7 separate regions of the Homo sapiens genome follow, and regions 1, 2, 4, 5, 6 and 7 are each linked to region 3. The links are contacts of gene promoters, found by promoter capture Hi-C in blood cells and fetal thymus (Javierre and others, 2016). All regions are on one chromosome and are shown on one strand. The core of a region is centred on a gene start or on the middle of the fragment in contact, and the rest is flanking DNA. Distances in the headings are between cores, read along the strand shown.

Region 1 (2,700 bases), core at 146-2,645, 340 kb after region 3:
GTCGAGGTTTGGAGAAATCAAAACCACCATACGTTGCTGGTGATATAAAATAATGCAGCTGCTCTGGAAAAGTCTGGCAGTTCCTCAAGAGGTTGACACAGAGTTGCCATACGATGCAGCAATCCCACTCCTAGGTATATATCCAAGAGAATTGAAAATATATGCCCACCCTTGTACCTGAATGTTCACAGCAGCAGCATTCGTCTCAGCCAAAAAGTGGAAACAACCCAAGTGTCCATCCACAGATGGACAGATAAGTAAAATACACAAATAAGTAAAATACTGTCTATTTAAGCAGTGGAATATCATTTGGCAATAAAAAGGAATGAAATACTAACAGTTGCTACAACATAGATGAACCTTGAAAGCATTATGCTAAGTGAAAGAAGGCAATCACAAAAGACCACATATCACATGATTCCATTTATATGAAATGTCCAGAAAAGGCAGATGGATAGAGGCAGAAAGTAGATTTGTGATTGCCAGAAAATGGAGAAAGGGTGAATGGGTAGTGACTGCTAATGGGCAGAGGATTTATTTTGGGAGTGATGAAAATGTTCTGAAATTAGACAGTGGTGATGGCTGCACAACTCTGTGAATATACTAAAAAACCATTTTTTTATACATTTTCAAGGGGTGAATTTTATGATATATGAACTATACCTCAATAAAGCTGTTGTTAAAGTGAAAAAGTCAGAACTCCTTCTCTTATATCCTCACAGTAATCAGCTTGGTGTTTGACACTAATGAGGAGAATTAAGCTGAACTGCCCATGGTGAGGGTGCTTAGAGGCAGGTTCCTTGAGTGAAAGAGGCAGAAATGGCCCATTCCAGAGACAGAATTAGGCTTCCTGAGACAGAGAAGACAGTGGTGGCAGATGACACCTAGTGGCAGGAAACTATTCCCTGCTATAAGAACATCCAAGGGATGACAACACTGTGGCCTTAGGTACCTGCAAAAGATTCCTGTGGTTGGCACGCAGAAATCCTGCCTTTTAAGGGACCCTGTGGGCTTGGACAGAGGGCATCTTGGTGATAATCATAATGAACTGAATACCGAAGAGCCACTCTCATGTTTTCTAGCTCAAGTGTGCCCTCAGGATTCTTGTATATCTCACAAAGAGGAGTTGCTCCCAGAGGGCTCAGCCTTCTCCCTGCTGACAAAGCCCCCACTTTGGCTCTTGTTCCAGCTGTTGGCCCTTTGAGACTCAACTGCATATTCTTGCCAGGCTCTGGTTTCTGTCTGTTTCCCCGAACTCTGGTGCAGGGTCCCCCCATTCCCTACTATGGCAGCCCATCGGTACACACTTGTTTGCCACTTGTGGCTGTCTTCCCTTCCTCCAGGATGGCAGGGGAGCTCAGGGAGCAGGCTGAGGGAGCAGGGAGGCCTCCTGTTTCTCCACTTCAACTCTATACTGGCTGCCAGTGGGACCCGCTGTGGGCAGGGGGATTTCTTCCCAGAGTCCAGGCTAAGTCCCTTCTGCCTTCAGCCCATCTGAGCCATTTTCATCATCTTCTTTGGCTAACTTCTAGGGGACCCAAACAACATTTTCACCTTAGTATCAGCCCCTCCAAATCTTCCTTCCTTCACCCAGGACTGGAAATGCTCTCTACCTCCTCCATCTGTCCAGCAAGAACTTCCCTCAAATCACCCCTCTGCCTCCTCTAGTTTAGTCTTGTGGCACAGTCTTAATGGTGAAAAGCCTGTCGAGGACAAATCTGAATTATCAGAAAGAGAAAATGCACTGGGAAGTACTTCAAAAATGAATTCTTTTACTAACCAATGCAGATTAAAATTGACAGCTGACAGTTACCTGGTTACCCTGTGCTAGGGAAAATTCTAAGCACTTTGCATGTGTTAATTTATTTGATTCTCTCAACAGCCTGCAACTATTATTTCCCTTATTTTAAAGGTGCAGAAACTGAAGCCATCTAAAGAAGTCAAACAGAGGGTAAATGTTGAATTTGGGATTCAAAGTTAGATAGTCTGGCCCCAAAGTCTATATTTTTAGCAGTAGGCTAAACTGTCTCTCCATACCAGACAAATCAAATCAGAATATTTGGTTATGGGGCCTGGGCATCAATATTTTTTAAAAATCTTCAGATTTTTCTAACATGCAGTCAGGGTTAAGAGCCTGGCTGATGTCTGTTGGGTTTTCATTCAACAAACCTTTATTGAATGCCTTTCTAGGTAGTAAGCCCATGTTAAACCCCAAAGATACACATACAAACATGTTTGGTTCCAGCCCTAACAGAGCTCATTGAGGGCAAAATAAGGAAGTTGCTGTATTGTTGGATGATGGACTCAGCTAGCTGCTTAGAATGTAGTTGTGCTTCTTCACAAAATAGCTGATTCTAGGTTTGGAGCACAGAAATTGCAAGGTAAGGTTCAGATATCCTGTTACACCAGAAAGCAGGTACATTGTCAAAGACTTAAGGGAGTCATGAAAAGACAGAGAAACCAGCCTGAAAGGGCAGTCACTGGCCAGATTCAAAATAATTCAAACATCAAAAATCGTAATTGACTATAATTGACTGAAACACATTGAATCAAAAGCCAGGTAATAAATGTAGAAGTCATGATAGAAGGATAGCCAAGATCCTAATTTGTATAATAGTTGGTTCAGTCAGAAATCATCAATGGATGCTAAAAGCATCGGTTGAAAGGTTATAAAGAACAGGATAGTCACATGGCACTGAA
Region 2 (2,769 bases), core at 236-2,735, 290 kb after region 3:
ATGCCACTGACTATGCTTAAAAATGATTAAAATGATAAATGTTATGTTATGTATATTTTACCACAATAAAAAAAAAGGAAGAGGTGGGCAGAAGAGTTAGTGTCAAAGTGATGCTGAGAGGTGAAGCCAGCTGCACTTCTGGGTTGGGTGGGGACTTGGAGAACTTTTCTGTCTTACAAGAGGATTGTAAAATGCACCAATCAGCACTCTGCAGCTAGGATTGTAAAACGCACCAATCAGCGCTCTGTGGCTAGCTAGAGGTTTCTAAAATGGGCCAATCAGCACTCTGTAAAAACACACCAATCAGCTCTCTGTGGCTAGCTAGAGGTTTGTAAAATGGACCAATCAGCACTCTGTAAAATGGACCAATCAGCACACTGTAAAATGGACCAATCAGCACTTGGTAAAATGGACCAATCAGCAGGACATGGGCAGGGACAAATAAGGGAATAAAAGCTGGCCACCCAGTCAACACAGGGAACCCAGTCAGGTCCATTTCTAGGTTGTGGAAGCATTGTTCTTTTGCTCTTCACAATAAATTTTGCTGCTCCTCACTGTTTGGGTCCATGTGACCTTTAAAGCTTTCTTTAACATTTAAGGTCCGTGGCTTCATTCTTGAAGTTAGCGAGATGGAGACCACAAGCCCACTGAAAGGAACCAACTGCAGACACAATGCATGTGAGAAAGACTCAGCCCTATTTTCTGGCTTTGAAGCTGGAGGAAGGAGCCAGGAGCAAAAGAATGAAGACAGTTTCCAGAAGCTGCAAAAGGGCAGGGACAGATTCACTCCAGGAAGCCCCAGAAACAAACACAGTCCTGCTGACACCTTGATTTCAATCCAGTGAGACATATTTTGGACTTCTGACCTACAGAGCTAAAATAATAGTAAGATAATAAAGTTATGTTGCCACCACTGAAAACAGTTTTATTTTGCTTTGGTTTAAGCTAACTGAGCTAATACAGCTGCCGTATTTTATGACACTTGCCTAAGGAAGACTTCCCATCCCTGCACTGCTCCCGGCTAACCAGTCCTTTCTCGGGACTCCTGGAAACCTCCCACTCTCAGAGAGGTGTAGGGTATAAAAATCACAAGCTGATGGCTCAGGATGTAGCAAATAAAAATACAAGACCAAAACGAAACCCAACCGGAACACCGAGTTAAACGTGAATTGACCATGCGATATTTGGGACATACTTAACACTAAAAATTACTGGTTGTGTATCTGAAATTTACCTTTAACTGGGCTCATGTATTTTACCGGGCAACCCTACCCCCCGGTCACAGTGAGACTACACACGGGGTCTTTTGGTCATTTTGCAAGTGTAAAAGACTAACGGGAACACCGGCATTTTTCAAAGCTCGATTTCCAAACCTCCTTTAAACACTTGTCCCCATCCCCTCCCCGCAGGCCTTCAGTCGCTCTGGCACGCGGGCCAGCGCGGGAACACTCTGCGCAGGCGCACAGCGTTCCGCGGGGGACGCTCAGTAGGGTACGGGACGCGCGCGGGGAGACCCTGTGCAGCGACACCGGGGCTGTAGTCGCCGTCTGGAACCAGCGCGGGAATAGGTGCGCAGGCGCACAGTGGCTGGAGGGCAGCGGCGGCGTGGTCTCGGGCCACTTCCAAGCAGAGGGCAGCACCTGTCCCCTCGGAGGCGCTGCCAGCGCCCTCCCTCCTCCTCCGCAGGGCGCGGGACCTCTATTTATATCGCCCAGCCAGCACAGGCCCATATTGGGCAGTGGCCTCAGTCAGGCCCGCTGGCCGCCCTGCCACACGGTAGCGTCCAAGCCAGGTCGTGGCCCAGCGAGTGGGGACGCGCCCCGAACCAGGCAGCACCTTCGTAAGTAGGGGTAGCGCCCCGGGGGAACGCGGCCCCCAGTCACAAGCCCTGCCTCAACTCCGGGCCAGGTTGAACCTGGGCGCCGACCCGGGGCCACCGGCACTTGCAGCCTCGGCTCTAAGTGACTTCCTTCGAGTCGCAGTGGGCCGGCGCCTGGCGTCAGGTGGGGCTCCCAGGAGCTGCTCCTCCAGGCCATCTCTGCCGTCTCCGACCTTCACCGTCGGGTTGTTCAGGCTCGTAGTCTGCATAGTATTATCATCCTCCGAATTACCTGACCAATGTATTATTGTGCCTTCCGTCGCTAGACTGTAAGCACAACAAAGGTAAGGGGCACTTCCCTGTTCCTGGTTGTCTTCCCGGAACCTAGGATAGTGCCTGGCACTTAGAAGGGTTCGTTTAAGTTTAATAAACCCTGAATGTATCCCTGAGCAACTCTCTTAACTTTAAAGCCAGGAGAATAATTGCCCTACATTTTCCCCCAAATGATTCTTAAGAGGAACTAATGAGCTATAATGCGGATTAAAGCACTTTGAAAAGTATAAAGCACTGTGAGAATGCAAAACAGTGTGAACTCGGCAAAGAAAAGAAAAGAAAACTGGTCTTATTTGTCTTTATCATCCATGTGCCTGGCTGTTACTGGATGCCCGGTGTGTGGGATGGATTATTATGAAATGAATCAGGTCTTTTTCCATGCTAGTGAGAAGCACAGAGTACATTTAGGGTGGTGCGTGTGTTCTCAGCCATTTCCTACCAGCCTCTGCAAGCGTAGGATTTTAGCAAGATGGTGTTGCTGAAACAAAATAGGGTGTGGAGACGTAATCGTATAAACTGGGGGTCACAAACTTAAATGGCTGTAGGATAATGTAAATGGACAGGAAAGAGAAAAGCAACAGCGTAAGAATTACAAATAATGACTGTCCCTCAGGTCT
Region 3 (2,700 bases), core at 145-2,644:
CCTCAGAGGAGGAAAGAAGAGGGAAGCTGGGTCTAGACACACCCTGGATTTCTCTTTTCCAAGCCCAGCTGACAGCCACTTTTCTAGTACCCCTAACACCCACCAAATAAAAGGTGCTACATTTTGCTCATGTTCTTTCTTTTGTCTGGAACCCATTTCTTCCCTATGCTCCTCCACCCCAACTCCTATTTCTCCTAAGTATTAATATTTAGTCTGGAAGAGTCCCGTGAGATTATCTCCAATGTCTGATGCTATACCCCTGCATAGGGGGGTGGGGATATACTTTGAAAAAGCATATTCAAATAACGATTTGTTATTTTAAAGAAGTGTTTTCCTAATATGGTATATATAAAGTAACATTCCACAAAATTGTGGTTGCTGTATATTTAAGCTGCAGTACTTCTAAAAGGGTAGTCGGGGTTTTTCTCTCCCTAAAAGAGGCTGAGCTTCTTTCTAACTCAGGAACTCTATCAGTGAGCTTTTCCCTCTGCCTTGTAAGTTCTCTCCCAAACCCAATCTCCTACCTAATACCCACTCATCCTTCCAGATGCCAGCCAGCTTACCTTAAATGCTGTTTCTTCAGGAAGGCAAGCATAAGGTTCCCCTCTGTGCTGTCTCCTAGCCCCTTATACTCCTTAACAGACCGACTACCAATTGCAATCATAGGACCATATGTGTGTCCATTTTGTTTTTCAGTCTGTTTTCTCTACGAGCCTAAACTATGAGGACGAGGGATGTGCCTGTTTTATTTACCACTACAGTGCTTGGCATATTAAGGATCTTCAGTTGCCAAAAGGGAGCACATGTTAGAGAAGTCAGCACCTCTCTCATAATCTAAAACCCCCCAGTTAGCAAATGGGGCAAGTGGGGCCCAGAGGTGAGAAGAGATTTACTCAAGGTCTCGGAACCAATCTGATCCTGAGCCAGACTGCCTAGCTCTAAAGTCCAGTTCTTTGCTCTCAGGTTCTCCTTCAGGGCTCACCCAATCTAAGTACCCTGAGAAGTCTTTCCTTACCCCAGGCCTCTGTCCACCCTCACAGTCATTTCCACGCGTCGTCCTCGTCCCATCAGTCCCATCTGCCACAGCTGCCCACTCTGCTTCCCAGGGAACGGGTGACCGCGCGGGGAGAGAGCGGCATCCGGGCGCGAGGTGCGAGGCCCAGGTCTGCGGGCGGCCGGGCCAAGCCCCCGAGCCTCGGCGGTGCTGATTGGCCGGCCTGGCGGGGGGGACGGGCGGAGGGACGGCCGCCCGCGCGTCCGCTTCGTCTCCGCGGGGGCGCGCCCGCGGCACGCGGCCGGGCGGGGCCGGGCGTGAGTGACGGCCATGCGGACCAATGGGGCGGGCGCGCGCCGCCGCCGCCGCCCGCGCGGCCCCTGACGCGGGCCCGGGCGCCGCGCCGCTGCGGCTGCAGGCGGCGACGGCTACACCATGGGCCGGCTGCTGCGGGCCGCCCGGCTGCCGCCGCTGCTTTCGCCGCTGCTGCTTCTGCTGGTTGGGGGTGAGTGCGCTCCGGGCCCGAGCGCGGGAGGGCGGGCGGCGGCGTGGGCGCGGTGCTGGACAGCTCCCCGGGCCGCCAACAAAGGGGCCAGAGTGCGGCGCCGCCGGGAGCGCGCGTGTCCCGGCCGGGCCGCGGCGCCGCCCCGACACACGCGCACGAGGAGTGGGTGCGTGGGGGCCGCGGCGGGCGCCTGGCGTGCCGGGCGACCCCCGACAAAGGCGCGGCGGTGAAGCTGGGACACAGCACCGTGGCCCCCACGCCGCGGCTCTCAGGGGCAGGTGCGCAGGCTGCTGCCTCGCGGGCCGGGGGGGCGCGCACGTGTGGGTGTGCATGTGTGTGCGTGTGCTTGTGTGTGTGCGAGTGCATTGTGTGCCTGCGCACTCGGGGGAAGAGGCGTGTGTGACAGCCACGCGGGGAGGAGGCCGCATTGTGAAGGTCCCAGGGGCCGCCTGCGGAGTGTGGGGCGGGTACGCTGAGGCGCGGGTGGCTGTTTACGCGTGGCGTTGCCGGGAGGGAGTGTGAGTGTGTCACGGTGAATGGGTATTCTCTCCTGTTCTGGGCGACTCTATTAGGAGCTGACAAAAACGGGCGTACAGCCACGGAAGGCCCGTGACAGCACACGGCGGGAGGCTCCCACGCAGCTCACACACGAGGGAGGTGTGAGACTCAGATGTGTGGTTTCCATTCAGCAGCCACGCCGGGCGGCGGGCTGTGTGGGTGCGTGGCGGGCTGGGGGTGTGGCACAGGTGTGAAAGGGATGTGTCTGCCTGAGAGAGAAAGAGACGGGCCTCCTGATGGCTTCCAGCGCAGACGGGGATTTAGTGGAGGGGGTGTGTAGGGAGGTGGGCATGGGGTGTGACAGCCCATGAGGCAGGCGGCCACTATGGAAATGGCGGGGAGAAGGGCTGTCTGCAAAGGTGGGTCAAATAAGGTCATAGCTGAGCAGCTCCTGCACACACTGGCAGAGCAGAGGGAGTGTGTTACGGTGTATGTTAAGGTGTGACTGGTGCTGCTGGAGGAATACCCGGATGAGGAAGTGTGCATGTGTGCCTGTGCACACTCATCAGCCAGCTGTAACTTCACTTCTGATGCACACGTCAAAATAGCGTCCTAGTATGATGTGTGTATGTGCATGTAGGAGTGTGTATGTGCATGTAGGAGTGTGCACAGGACATTTCCCACGCAGCTGGCCCATGAAGAC
Region 4 (2,763 bases), core at 151-2,650, 370 kb after region 3:
GTGGATCATGAGGTCAGGAGATTAAGACCATCCTGGCTAATATGGTGAAACCTCGTCTCTACCAAAAAAATACAAAAAATTAGCCAGGCATGGTGGCAGGTGCCTGTAGTCCCAGCTACTCAGGAGGCTGAGGCAGGAGAATGGCGTGAACCCGGGAGGCGGAGCTTGCAGTGAGCCGAGATCACGCCACTGCACTCCAGCCTGGGGGACAGAGCGAGAATCTGTCTCCAAAAAAAAAAAACTAATAATAAAATAAGAAGCTATTAGACATATGCTCAATATGCTCAAGAATTTAAAGAAAAAAACATGAACATAATGAGGAGAAATATGGAAAATATAACCAAGAACCTAATGGAATTTCTACAGGTGAAATATACAATACCTGCAATGAGAAACGTATTGACTGAGATTAACAGCATATCACACACTGACAAAGGAAAGATCAATGAACCTGAAAACAATGCAACAGAAACTGAACTGAAGCACTGGGAGAAAAATGCTGAAATAAAATGAACAGAACTGGAAATGTTACCTGTGAGATACTATCAAACAATACATGTATCATTAGGGTACCAGGAAGGAGACAAGAAAAACATTGGAAGACAATCTTCTAAATTTGATGAAAATCATAGATGCAGAGTTCCAGGGAGCTCAAGGACCCCCGCCTGAGAAGCAGGAAGCTTTGTCCCTCAGCATCCCCTCCTGGAAGGACTTGCCCAGAGGCTGTGGGGAGCGCAGGCTGCAGAACGCCCTCAGCCACCAGCTCCTCCCCATCCCTCACCTGCAGAGAGAGCCACTGGCTAAAGGCCACACCTTCCCAGACAGCCCAGGTGACTGAGCAGGCAGGGAATGTGAAGATCTGGCCATTTCAGCTCAGCACAGAACATGCTGATGGAAGGCCTTGCTCTGGAGTCCCCAACAGGTGGGCAGAGGTGGGCAGGCCTGACCGAGGTTGAACTCCACTGCCAAGCCTGCTTCTGCCTCCTCCTGTCACAAGTGTGAAACACCTGGTGCCCCAGACTCCACTCCTTCATCTGCTTCCAGGGAAGCCAGCCTGAGACAACTAGCAAAGGCACATCCTAATGAAATGGCTGAGAATGCGAGGTAAAGGGAAACAGAAGCAAGAATGGCCACGTCCTCAAAAACTCTGCAGACAAGGAGACAATGAAACAGCATCTGCAAGAAAAAGCCGGGGATCTACAAATCTATATCCTGCAACCAAAGAAGACAAAATAGAGACTTTTCCAAACAAACCAAAGCTAGAGATTTTGCCAGCGGCAGACCTGCAATACGGGAAATGTTGACAGGAGTTCTTCACACCAAAGGCGAATGATATCGGATGAAAAGCCTGGAACTACAGGAGAGAATGAAGAGTTTGGGAAATGGAAAATGCATCACTCATATGAAAACCCTTTTCTCATTTTGAATCTCTTTGGAACATAATTGGCTCTGGAAGGTAAAACTGTTAACAATTTGTTGTTGAAGGCCAGGTGCGGTGGCTCACGCCTGTAATCCCAACACTTTGGGAGGCTGAGGCGGGCAGATCACAAGGTCAGGAGTTCGAGACCAGCCTGACCAACATAATAAAACCCCATCTCTACTAAAAATACAAAAATTAGCCGGGCGTGGTGGCACGTGCTTGTAATCCCAGCTACTCGGGAGGCTGAGGCAGGAGAATCACTTCAACGCGGGAGGCAGAGGTTGCAGTGAACCAAGATCGCGCCACTGCACTCCAGCCTGGGCGACAGAGTGAGACTCCGTCTCAAAAAAGAGCAGGATGGCAGGTATAAATACAGACATAAGGATACCTGCATTCAGTATAAATAATCGAGGGACTTGGAAAATCAGATATCAGACTGGACAAAAAAAGTGAGACTTACCTGTATGCTCTCTACCAGAAACTTACTTTAAATATAAAGACACAAATAAACTATAAAAAGATAGAAAAGATATATCATGCAAGCACTAGTCATTTTTTCAAAAGCCGGAGTGCCTATATTCTTGTCGGACAAAGTAGACTTCAGGGCAAACATTACCAGGGATAGAGATGTTTCTTAATGATAAAGGTGTGAATTTATCACAAAGACATCATAATCCTAAATGTGCATCTGCCTAATCACAAAGCTTCAAAACGCATGAAACAAAAACTGACAAACCCACAATTCTCATGTGTGATTCTCACGCAGAATTGAAAGGAAAAACAGACAAATCCACAATTCTCATGCATGATTCCCACACTCCTCTTCCAATAAGGACACAGAAGACTCGAACACGGTCAGCCAATTTAACCATCTCACGCTTAACAATGGCAGAATGTCCATTCTCAGCGCACATAGAGCCATCATCGAAATAAACCATATGCTGGACCACAAAACAAGTTTCATAAATGTTAAACGCTAAAAACAGGCAGAGTATGTTCTCTAACTAAAATATAGTTTAAAAAGAAATCAGTAACAATTAGATATCATTTAAATCCCTCACAATTGGAAATTGAACAAAGCACTTTTAATTACCCATGGGTCAAAGAAGAGATCATAAGAGAAATTAGAAATATTTTTAACTCTGTAAAAATAAAAACGTAGCCTATCAAATTTATGAGAAGCAGCTAAATCAGTTTTTATAGTGAACTTTACAACTTTAAATGCTTACATCATGGCAGGGTGCGGTGGCTCACACCTGTAATCCCAGCACTTTGAGAGATCGAGGTGGTTGGATCACTTGAGTCCAGGAGTTCGAGACCAGCCTGGCCAACATGGTGAAACC
Region 5 (2,700 bases), core at 150-2,649, 410 kb after region 3:
AAAAGCTGAACCTAAAATTCATATGGAATTCAAGGGACCCAGAATAGCCAAAATAATCTCAGAATAGAGTTGGAAGACTCACATTTTTGAATTTCAAAACATAGTGCATAGGTACAATAATCAAGACTATGTGGTACTGACATAAAGATAGAGAGACATATAAGTCAACAGAATATAATTGAGAATCCAGAAATAAATCCATACATTTATGGTTAATTGATTTTAGACAAGGATGCCAAGACAGTTCAATGAGGGAAAGAACAGTCTTTTCAACAACTCTCGCTGGGACAGCTAGACACTGATATGCAAACAAAAATTAAAATGAATCAAAGATCTATATGTAAGAGCTAAAACTATAAACTTCTAGAGGACAACATAGGTGTAAATCTTCTTGACTTTGGCTTCGGCAATAATTACCTAGATGTAACACCTAAAGCACAAGCAACAAAAGAAAAAAAAATTGGATTTCTTCAAAATTAAAAGCTTTTATGCTTCCAAGTTTACCCTTAAGAAAGTGAAAAGATGGCCGGGCGCGGTGGCTCATGCCTGTAATCCCAGCACTTTGGGAGGCTGAGATAGGTGGCTCACGAGGTCAGAAGTTCGAGACCAGCCTGGCCAACATGGTGAAACCCCATCTCTACTAAAAATACAAAAATTAGCTGGGCGTGGTAAAAAAGAAAGTAAAAAGACAATCTTCAGAATGGGAGAAAATATTTACAAATCATATATCTGTTAAGGGACTTTATATTCAGAATATATAAAGAATTCTTACAACTCAACAATAAAAAGACAAACAGCTCAATTTAAAAATCAACAAAGTATTTGAATATTCTCCAAACAAAACATACAAATGACCAATAAACATACAAAAATATGTCTAACATCATTAGTTTTGCATCACTAGTGAAACACAAATCAAAACCTCAATGAGTTACCACTTCACATCCACTAAACTAGTTATAATAAAGAAACAGACAGTGACAAGTATTGTTGAGGATATGGAGAAACTGGGACCCTTTTACATTGCTGGTGGGAATGTAAAATGGTGCAGCTGCTTTGGAACACAGTTGGCAGTTCCTCAAAAAGTCAAACATAGATTTACCTTATGACCGAGCAATTCCACTCCTACATATATCAGAAAATTGAAAGCAAATGATTCATGCAAAAACCTGTGTGTGCATGTTCATACCAACATTATTCATAATACCTAAAAAGTGGAAGCAACTGCTGAAACGGTAAGTGCCATGTCCCATTCTACAGTCCACACAATGGCATATTTTGCAGCCACAAAAAGCAACGAAATGCTGATATATGCTACACCATGAATGAACCTTGAAAACATTATGCTAAGTGAAAAAAGACCACATATTATATGATCCCATTTGTCTGGAATGTTCAGAAAATGAAAATCCATAGAAAGAATATAGATTAGTTGTTGCCAGCAACTTGGGGTGGAAGGAGAAAGAATGGATAATGACTGCTGATGGATATGGGGTTTATCTTGGGTTGATGAAAAAGTTTTGAAATTAGATAGTGGTGATGTTTGTACAAAAGTGTGAATATACTAAAAGCCACTGAATTGTGCACTTTAAATAGGTGAATTTGATAATATTCAAATTATTTCTCAGAAAACAATCTATACATACACTCAACTGTGCCTCTATGAAGCAAATAGTTTCTGAAATAATTTTTTGAAGAGTAAAGGGCATGAGCTCTGGGCAGCCACAGCGCACCTCCTTTGACTTCCTCTAGGCTGTACTCTTGATAGCTGAGGTTGCTGTTAAGCTATCTGAGCAAGGAGTAGTGAATATCTTATGAGAATAATGTTGGTTACCACACACAGCCTAGTGACCTGGCTCAGACATAGTGACAATAAATGCTTCCCCAAATCTAAATTTCCAAGACCACAGCCAGCCACTGCAAGTTTTGGCAAAACCTATCATGAAAGCCTATCAAAGGGAAAATGGGGTTTGTGATTGATCAAATTTCTTTTAAAGTATCTGAAATTCGTAGTTTTGAAGTAAGCAACTTTATGAGGGCTCTTAGCCTTTAGAGAGATGTTCCAATGCCACAAAAACATCCTACAGTAAGAGACAGCAGACTACTAATGCTCTATGAGGCTGAGGCGATTGGAGAAAATGAGCTTGAAGTCCTTCCAGAATATTGAGCATTTATCATAGTATTACCACTATTTAATTTCATAGGAAAAAAAATCCAAGGAACAATCCCTTTGTACCTTGACAGGTCCCTAGAAGAAACTTCTGTTACCACATTCAGACAATATCTACTTAGTGAATAAACAAACCACTTGGTTCCAAAGCTTGTCCATATGACACATTTCACAATTGCTATATTTAATTCAAATTATTTGGAGTTAAAATACACTCCAGAGTGTTTATTTTTCTGTCTCTTTCCTAGAGGGTAAGAATAGTAAATGAGACAGCTGGTTGTATTCTCAGCTCTGGGGTTCTGGTAAGCATTTTATATGGCAGCAGGCAGGAGCCGGGGGTGTGTGGTTGGAGACAGTTTTTCAAAATGAAATGGTCTGTCCTCCCCCACAGCTCCCTGCCCTCTGCCACTGCAGGATTACAGTAATTCTGTATCCCAAGACTAGTTACTTTTAAAATGCCACAGCAAAGTATCCCCAAAGGTTATGGTTCCCATTTGTTCATGTCACTTAATAGCTAAAAAACCTTGGGC
Region 6 (2,700 bases), core at 58-2,557, 430 kb after region 3:
AAGACAAAAATCCCCCCATTCCACAGAAAAATAATGTCAGTTTTAGGTTTATCTCTTCTGGTGTTTGGGTCCATCTGCAAAGTTTTAAAAACACAAATAGGCTTGTAATTATGATGATACCTAACTTGCACTTTTCATATAAAAATATCTCCTGGACGTTTGGCACGTCAGAATACACAATCCTGCCTCACTTTTCTTAGCACAGTATAAGCTTATATTGCAACGATAAAGCAACGTTAAGTCATTTCCAGGTTTTTTTATCGTTAACATTGAAACCATGACTGTCCTCATATGTTCATCTTTGTATATTTTGGCAGCTGCTCTCAGTGAATAAGTTTCTAAAAATGAAATTCCTAAACCAAAGCACTTGGTCATGCAAGGGGCAGCTTTCTGAAAAAGGCCTGAACTTGGAGCTTAGCACCTGCGTTCAAATCCTGGCTGTTCCTGTTAGTCATACATACGTGGCTTTGGGCAGATTCCTGCACCACTGAATCTTGGTTACCAGGATGCAGTGAGAAGCAACATGAAATTACATGATGCCTGGCTCCTGGTAGATGTGTATCAAACATTGGCATGCTGTGCTACATCCACCAAGTGCCGTGGAAATCTTGTAACAGCATGTTTTTAATAAAAAGTTCAAAACATACAAGGGAAGCCTTAGAGAGTGTGACTTATTAGGGAAAGGAAATAAACATTTTTTGGCACTAAATATCTTCTTCACTGAGGAGCATTCCAGGAGAAATAATCATGCATATTTGAGAGTTTTCTTTTAATTGAATGTTGGAAACAGAGTCCTTGGCCTCCAGAGACCATATTATCTCATTAATGAGATGGAAAACTGGTCCCCAAACAAGTGAAGGCTGCATGTGCCTAACAGGTTACAAAGGAGAGTGGAGCTTGAGATAGGGAGCCATAGAGAAGAGTGGGCAAGATCACATTTGATGCTTCCTTGAGTACTTTGTATAAATTTAGGAAATCCAAGGTAAATTGGGAGAAGCAGGTCCAGAAGGCAAAGTTTGACAGGATGTGAAAAGGCAAGAGGGGGATGGCATTGTAGGAGTTCAGGTATTTGTCAAGACCATCATGGTGACTGGCTTTTGGGGAGTGCCTGAGTGGGAAGGAAGTAAAGTCAGAGGGGAGCCCCTGGTGGCTTAGCAGCCCAGTAGTAGCCGCCAGAGGCTCATGTTCCATTCTGCAGCAGGGCATTGAGTAATGGGAGCCAGAGTTTGGAAGAAGTGATTTGCTCTGCACTGAAAGGCAGAGAGAGCAGCTAGGTGCGTGCAGCAGTAATCCAGCCCCAATTAAGCCATCCTACAGGAGAGCACTGTGTGAGGGCATTTGGAGGAAGCAAGTTGAGAGAGGGGACCAGAGAGGCACTTTCAAGGTGGGGGAAAACTAAGAAGCAAAGGTGGATTTGTCTGGCCTTGAAGTCAGTGTGTCTACATGTCAGTTGCTCGTGTTTGGGACCTGGCTGACACGAGATGCATTCAGGAAGGGCTGTGCCCCATGGCCTGCATGTGGGCAGTGAGTGGTGCTAGAGGGAGAGCCTAGGGAGGGGCAGGGAGAGCCACACAGAGGGCACAGCTGGGACGGCAGCTTTGCAGCTGTGCCTGGAGATGTTGCAGCTTGGCTTGGGACAGGGGAGGCTGTTGAATGAGATTCTACAGGCAGAGACAGTAATCACTGCTGCTTCCCTGGGCAGCAGGAACAATGCAGAACTGGGAATTAGTCCCAAATTTGAAACCGTGGGGAAACAGGCCAGCCTTGTCACACAGGACCAAAAGGTGGAAAGGATGGGAATTGACGAAAGACCGCCACAGGGTGAGATGAGGACATGATGGCCAGTTAGGATATGGTGTCTCTTTCACAGAAGCCACAGCAGAGGAGGTCAGTGGTCATATTGGTTAGATGGTCTGCCTGACATGTCATCTCGGAATGGTCCAGGAAGATGTAGCAGGTGGTCCTAGCTATCACGTGTTAGAAACTTGGGAACAGTGCTTTTGAGTTCTTTAGTTTCACCTTTTCCTAGATTCACTTGCTTTTTAGTCATGGGAGGAGTAAAAGTGAAAGTTGGAAGATTTGTTCTATGAAAGGAAAATCAGGGAGCAGAACCTACTCCTGACAGCATCCAGAGACACAATCTGGAGATGTCACACCTGCAGCACCGAAACTCAATGTCAGGCACTTGGGGTCTGGATGGCTCCTGAGCTGAACTACAGATTTGGGCCACCTCTCTAGGCTCACCATCCAGATCTGGGTCCAGAGGACAGAATTATTACCTTTGGGTTAAAGTGATCCCTTCTCAAGTTTTTATTTAATGTGCTTTTAAAAGGCAAACCCCACATACCATCAGTTTGGTTACTCTTCCCATTCCCTCAGCTACCAAGTTATTTTGGTTGAATAGAAGCTTTCCTTTTTGTAGGGTGTCTTCATTTCTTACATCTCACTCTATTTCACTGTTAGGCACAAGGGAATGGACACATTTGACAAGTTCCACAGTACTAGATGGGTCCTCTAAGTACAGTCTGACCTTCAGTTTCAGCTTTCCTATTTAATCTGTCATGTAAAATTAATTGTACTCCAAAGTGGCCATCAAATACAGTCCCTATTTGACTTTTTGTTGTTGTTGAGACGGAGTCTTGCTCTGTCACCCAGGCTGGAGTGCATTGGCGCCATCTCGGCTCACTGCAACCTCCGCCT
Region 7 (2,700 bases), core at 101-2,600, 320 kb after region 3:
TTTAAAATATCTCAGTCATTAAGAGCATCAAAAATTGTGCTTCTCTATATGTGAGTGATGTCCATTGGCCATTGAGTAATGTACTACTGTATTTGCTCCCTAAACTAGAAGGCCACAAATTACAGGGTTTCATGGGTTTTTTTCCTCTCCTTCCCACTGCTGTTGGTTACCATTTCTTTTCTTGTTGCTCTCTCCCTGTTATGTTACCAGATTGTACATACAAGATTATGCATCAATCATACATATAAATAGATTTTACATACAAGACTATATATGCAGGCAATTGTACATATGTTTAGATTACACATACAGTTAGGCCATTAGACCTTGTGTCATTAACAATGTCTCCAGTTTTTTCAGAATAAAATTCAAGGTCTTTTATCACAGCACCAATACTCAGACACTTGTTTTACATTGCTCAGGGTTTTCACTTGTGCTCTGGGCACTAGCAATCGTCTGACTTCCTGTTAAATGAGGAGTTACTGTAACAGGCAGCATCTAACCACCACAGGGAAAGATTTAGGCAAGCAGGATAATCGGAATCATTTGGTTAATGGCCCTTGCCTTTACCTTATTACATTTTTTATAAATTTTCTGAGTAAATCTCATGTGTACAAAGGTTTCCCAGGTGTATTCTTTAACAGAAATAAGCCACAGAAAGGAAAGGTCCTTCTGCAGACCAATCTTATCTCTGCAACTTAATAGCACCATGTGATTTTGAGCAAGTTGCTGAATTTTGCTAAATCTGTTTTCTTTATTCATAAAATAAGGATGATAATAATACATTATTAACTCATGCAGTTGTTGCAAAGCTTAAGAGAGTATTATGCCAAATGCTGAACACTGTGCTTGGCATATGAGAAGTGCTCAATAGATGAGAGTTATAACAATCATTATTGCTTATAGTAAGTGGCAAAGAGTCCACTGTGCTTTAGTGTCCTAATAATGTTCAGCCCGTCATCTTATTGTTAATGCCCTGCCAGGCCCAAATGAGGAGGCATACTGAGATGAGGTCATTCTGTCCTCATGCGTTGGGAGTCAAAGGACTGAGTCTTTCTACTTTCTTCATTTCCTCCTATTGTAAACATGCGCTAATGACATACTTACTGCACATTCACACAGCCTGCTTTTCTGTATGGAGCCAGGTACACATTTTCATGTAAGGAACTCTTTGAAAATATTGTCCAGAATGTACTCTTCTAATAGGAATTAAAGATGAAAACATTGTATTACCGGACATTGTGGCTAGCACTGACCCTGGAGGTTTGCTTTGAGTTGTAAAGATTTTAGAATATGGACTTCAGTTAAAACCTATGCTGAATTTTTCTCGTGTAAATGTTTGTCTTTAAAAAGTGTGTTGTCACAGATACCATGAATAATTTGAATTTAGATGAAAACAGCTTCTGGAATTATGGCAAACTAGCCAAGGGGCATATTAGTCATATACTGGATAGTTTTTCCTGGAAATCTATAAATTGCCTTCTTAACATAAAAATAAAGGAATAGATATGGCCAGATTGCTCAAGTGACTCCATTGCTCATGTGGTTACATGTGCATTTTGTCAGCTTTGCCACACTGTAATTGGCTCTTCTGTTGGATAACTTCCTAGAAAGCCTAAAATAATTTAGTCTATATAAGTCTTATGAGTCAATGATACCCTAAGTGGAAACACAGGTATTTAAAACCAGCCAGCTTTCCTTTTGACTTTTTTTTCCTGAGGCCCTTCTCAGGAACGTAACTATTTTTGTTAGGAAGTGCAGAAAGGAGTGGTCTGTTGTTTAATGACAGAACCACTGACATGCAGGAGGAGACCAAAGGGAAGGTGCCTTAGTTCTAAGGAAAAATCTTTTGTCATTTGTACAGTGAAAGCTCATTATAAGAGCTAGTTAAGCTTCTTTAATCTAAAATACATCCTAATTGCCTAAAAAGGTAGTCCAGAAATTTTAGGTTAATATATCTTATTGCTGTAGAAAATATTAATGCCTTGTTTTCAAGGTTTTAAATCCATTTTATGAATAATAAAGTAGAAAATGAATCAAATACAGACTCCTATTAGTAAAATTTGGGGGAAGGTAGAACATTCTGGGTTCAACCTCACTGAAATCTCATTATGAGTCCTTGGTGAATGCTTCTGTTATAAAATACTGATTTAAATATGGTACCAGGGGCTGTCTCTTAGAAAAGAAGTTTGCATGTAAGATAAACTGGAAAGCATTTTAGATCTCATACTATTAGTTATGCTCTTGAATAAATTATGCTTCCTTCTGAAATGAAAATGTGTATTCATGAATATGCTTTGGATTTCCATCAAGTGTTCTTAAAATGTCAAATTGCGTTCAAAAGTTGCTTCAGCTTGATGGGTCAGGCAAAATCAAATATAGAAAGTGAGGCCAGAATCTATTTATGGAGGCAGTAGACCTTTCACACGTGGCCCCAGCCTGCCCCTGCAGCCTCAGCTCCTCCTGCCACTCCTCCACCCCACAAAGCCTAGCGCCAGCCACAGGGACTGGGGGTCACTTCCTGAACATGCTTTCCTCCTGTGCCTTTGTTTACCCTGTTCCCTTTGCGTGTAGGGCCTAACTCAACATCCTCAAAATCTGGCAAAAATCCCATCTCCTTGTAGTGGTTTATGTAATCCTTTGGTCAGAACGAAGAGCATGCTGCTTTGCCAGTCGCTGCCCTTGTCACACTATACTCAG

What was found. Contacts are between HindIII fragments. The CHiCAGO score rates a contact against its expected background, and 5 or more counts as called.
Region 1: a fragment that was not itself captured here is called in contact with the fragment with the promoter of PODXL2 in region 3 in 9 of 17 cell types (M2 macrophages, megakaryocytes, erythroblasts and 6 more); the score reaches 12.9 in M2 macrophages.
Region 2: the fragment with the promoter of KBTBD12 here is called in contact with the fragment with the promoter of PODXL2 in region 3 in 4 of 17 cell types (M2 macrophages, M1 macrophages, endothelial precursors and 1 more); the score reaches 8.0 in M2 macrophages.
Region 4: a contact is called between a fragment that was not itself captured here and the fragment with the promoter of PODXL2 in region 3, in 1 of 17 cell types (M1 macrophages). The highest score is 5.4, in M1 macrophages.
Region 5: a fragment that was not itself captured here is called in contact with the fragment with the promoter of PODXL2 in region 3 in 1 of 17 cell types (erythroblasts); the score reaches 5.3 in erythroblasts.
Region 6: a fragment that was not itself captured here is called in contact with the fragment with the promoter of PODXL2 in region 3 in 2 of 17 cell types (megakaryocytes and erythroblasts); the score reaches 6.4 in megakaryocytes.
Region 7: a contact is called between a fragment that was not itself captured here and the fragment with the promoter of PODXL2 in region 3, in 5 of 17 cell types (endothelial precursors, M1 macrophages, M2 macrophages and 2 more). The highest score is 7.2, in endothelial precursors.

The regions. Positions count from the first base shown.
Region 1 is chr3:127,970,288-127,972,987 of GRCh38, forward strand. All of the region lies in intron 5 of KBTBD12 (kelch repeat and BTB domain containing 12), which reads left to right. Among named protein-coding and RNA genes, the nearest start is that of KBTBD12, 56 kb to the left of the region's middle. The HindIII fragment of the contact is 4,244 bases long and covers 1-2,700 here.
Region 2 is chr3:127,913,747-127,916,515 of GRCh38, forward strand. KBTBD12 (kelch repeat and BTB domain containing 12) reads left to right here and starts at 1,486. Exons shown (of 6, transcript NM_207335.4): 1 at 1,486-1,840. The region is part of intron 3 of LOC107986129 (a long non-coding RNA gene); the gene reads right to left. LOC124909427 (a long non-coding RNA gene) reads left to right here. Exons shown (of 2, transcript XR_007096071.1): 2 at 600-920. The HindIII fragment of the contact is 5,822 bases long and covers 580-2,769 here.
Region 3 is chr3:127,627,791-127,630,490 of GRCh38, forward strand. It overlaps PODXL2 (podocalyxin like 2), which reads left to right and starts at 1,395. Exons shown (of 8, transcript NM_015720.4): 1 at 1,395-1,499. The coding sequence starts at 1,430. It overlaps LOC107986126 (a long non-coding RNA gene), which reads right to left and starts at 1,173. Exons shown (of 2, transcript XR_001740892.2): 1 at 1,016-1,173. RefSeq lists silencers at 1,328-1,397, 1,508-1,637 and an enhancer at 2,038-2,097. The HindIII fragment of the contact is 9,170 bases long and covers 1-2,700 here.
Region 4 is chr3:128,000,906-128,003,668 of GRCh38, forward strand. No RefSeq gene overlaps it. Among named protein-coding and RNA genes, the nearest start is that of SEC61A1, 50 kb to the right of the region's middle. The HindIII fragment of the contact is 1,444 bases long and covers 679-2,122 here.
Region 5 is chr3:128,039,093-128,041,792 of GRCh38, forward strand. The region is part of intron 2 of LOC102723759 (a long non-coding RNA gene); the gene reads right to left. Among named protein-coding and RNA genes, the nearest start is that of SEC61A1, 12 kb to the right of the region's middle. The HindIII fragment of the contact is 1,837 bases long and covers 482-2,318 here.
Region 6 is chr3:128,060,728-128,063,427 of GRCh38, forward strand. The region is part of intron 7 of SEC61A1 (SEC61 translocon subunit alpha 1); the gene reads left to right. Among named protein-coding and RNA genes, the nearest start is that of SEC61A1, 9.6 kb to the left of the region's middle. The HindIII fragment of the contact is 2,196 bases long and covers 210-2,405 here.
Region 7 is chr3:127,952,283-127,954,982 of GRCh38, forward strand. All of the region lies in intron 4 of KBTBD12 (kelch repeat and BTB domain containing 12), which reads left to right. Among named protein-coding and RNA genes, the nearest start is that of KBTBD12, 38 kb to the left of the region's middle. The HindIII fragment of the contact is 1,080 bases long and covers 811-1,890 here.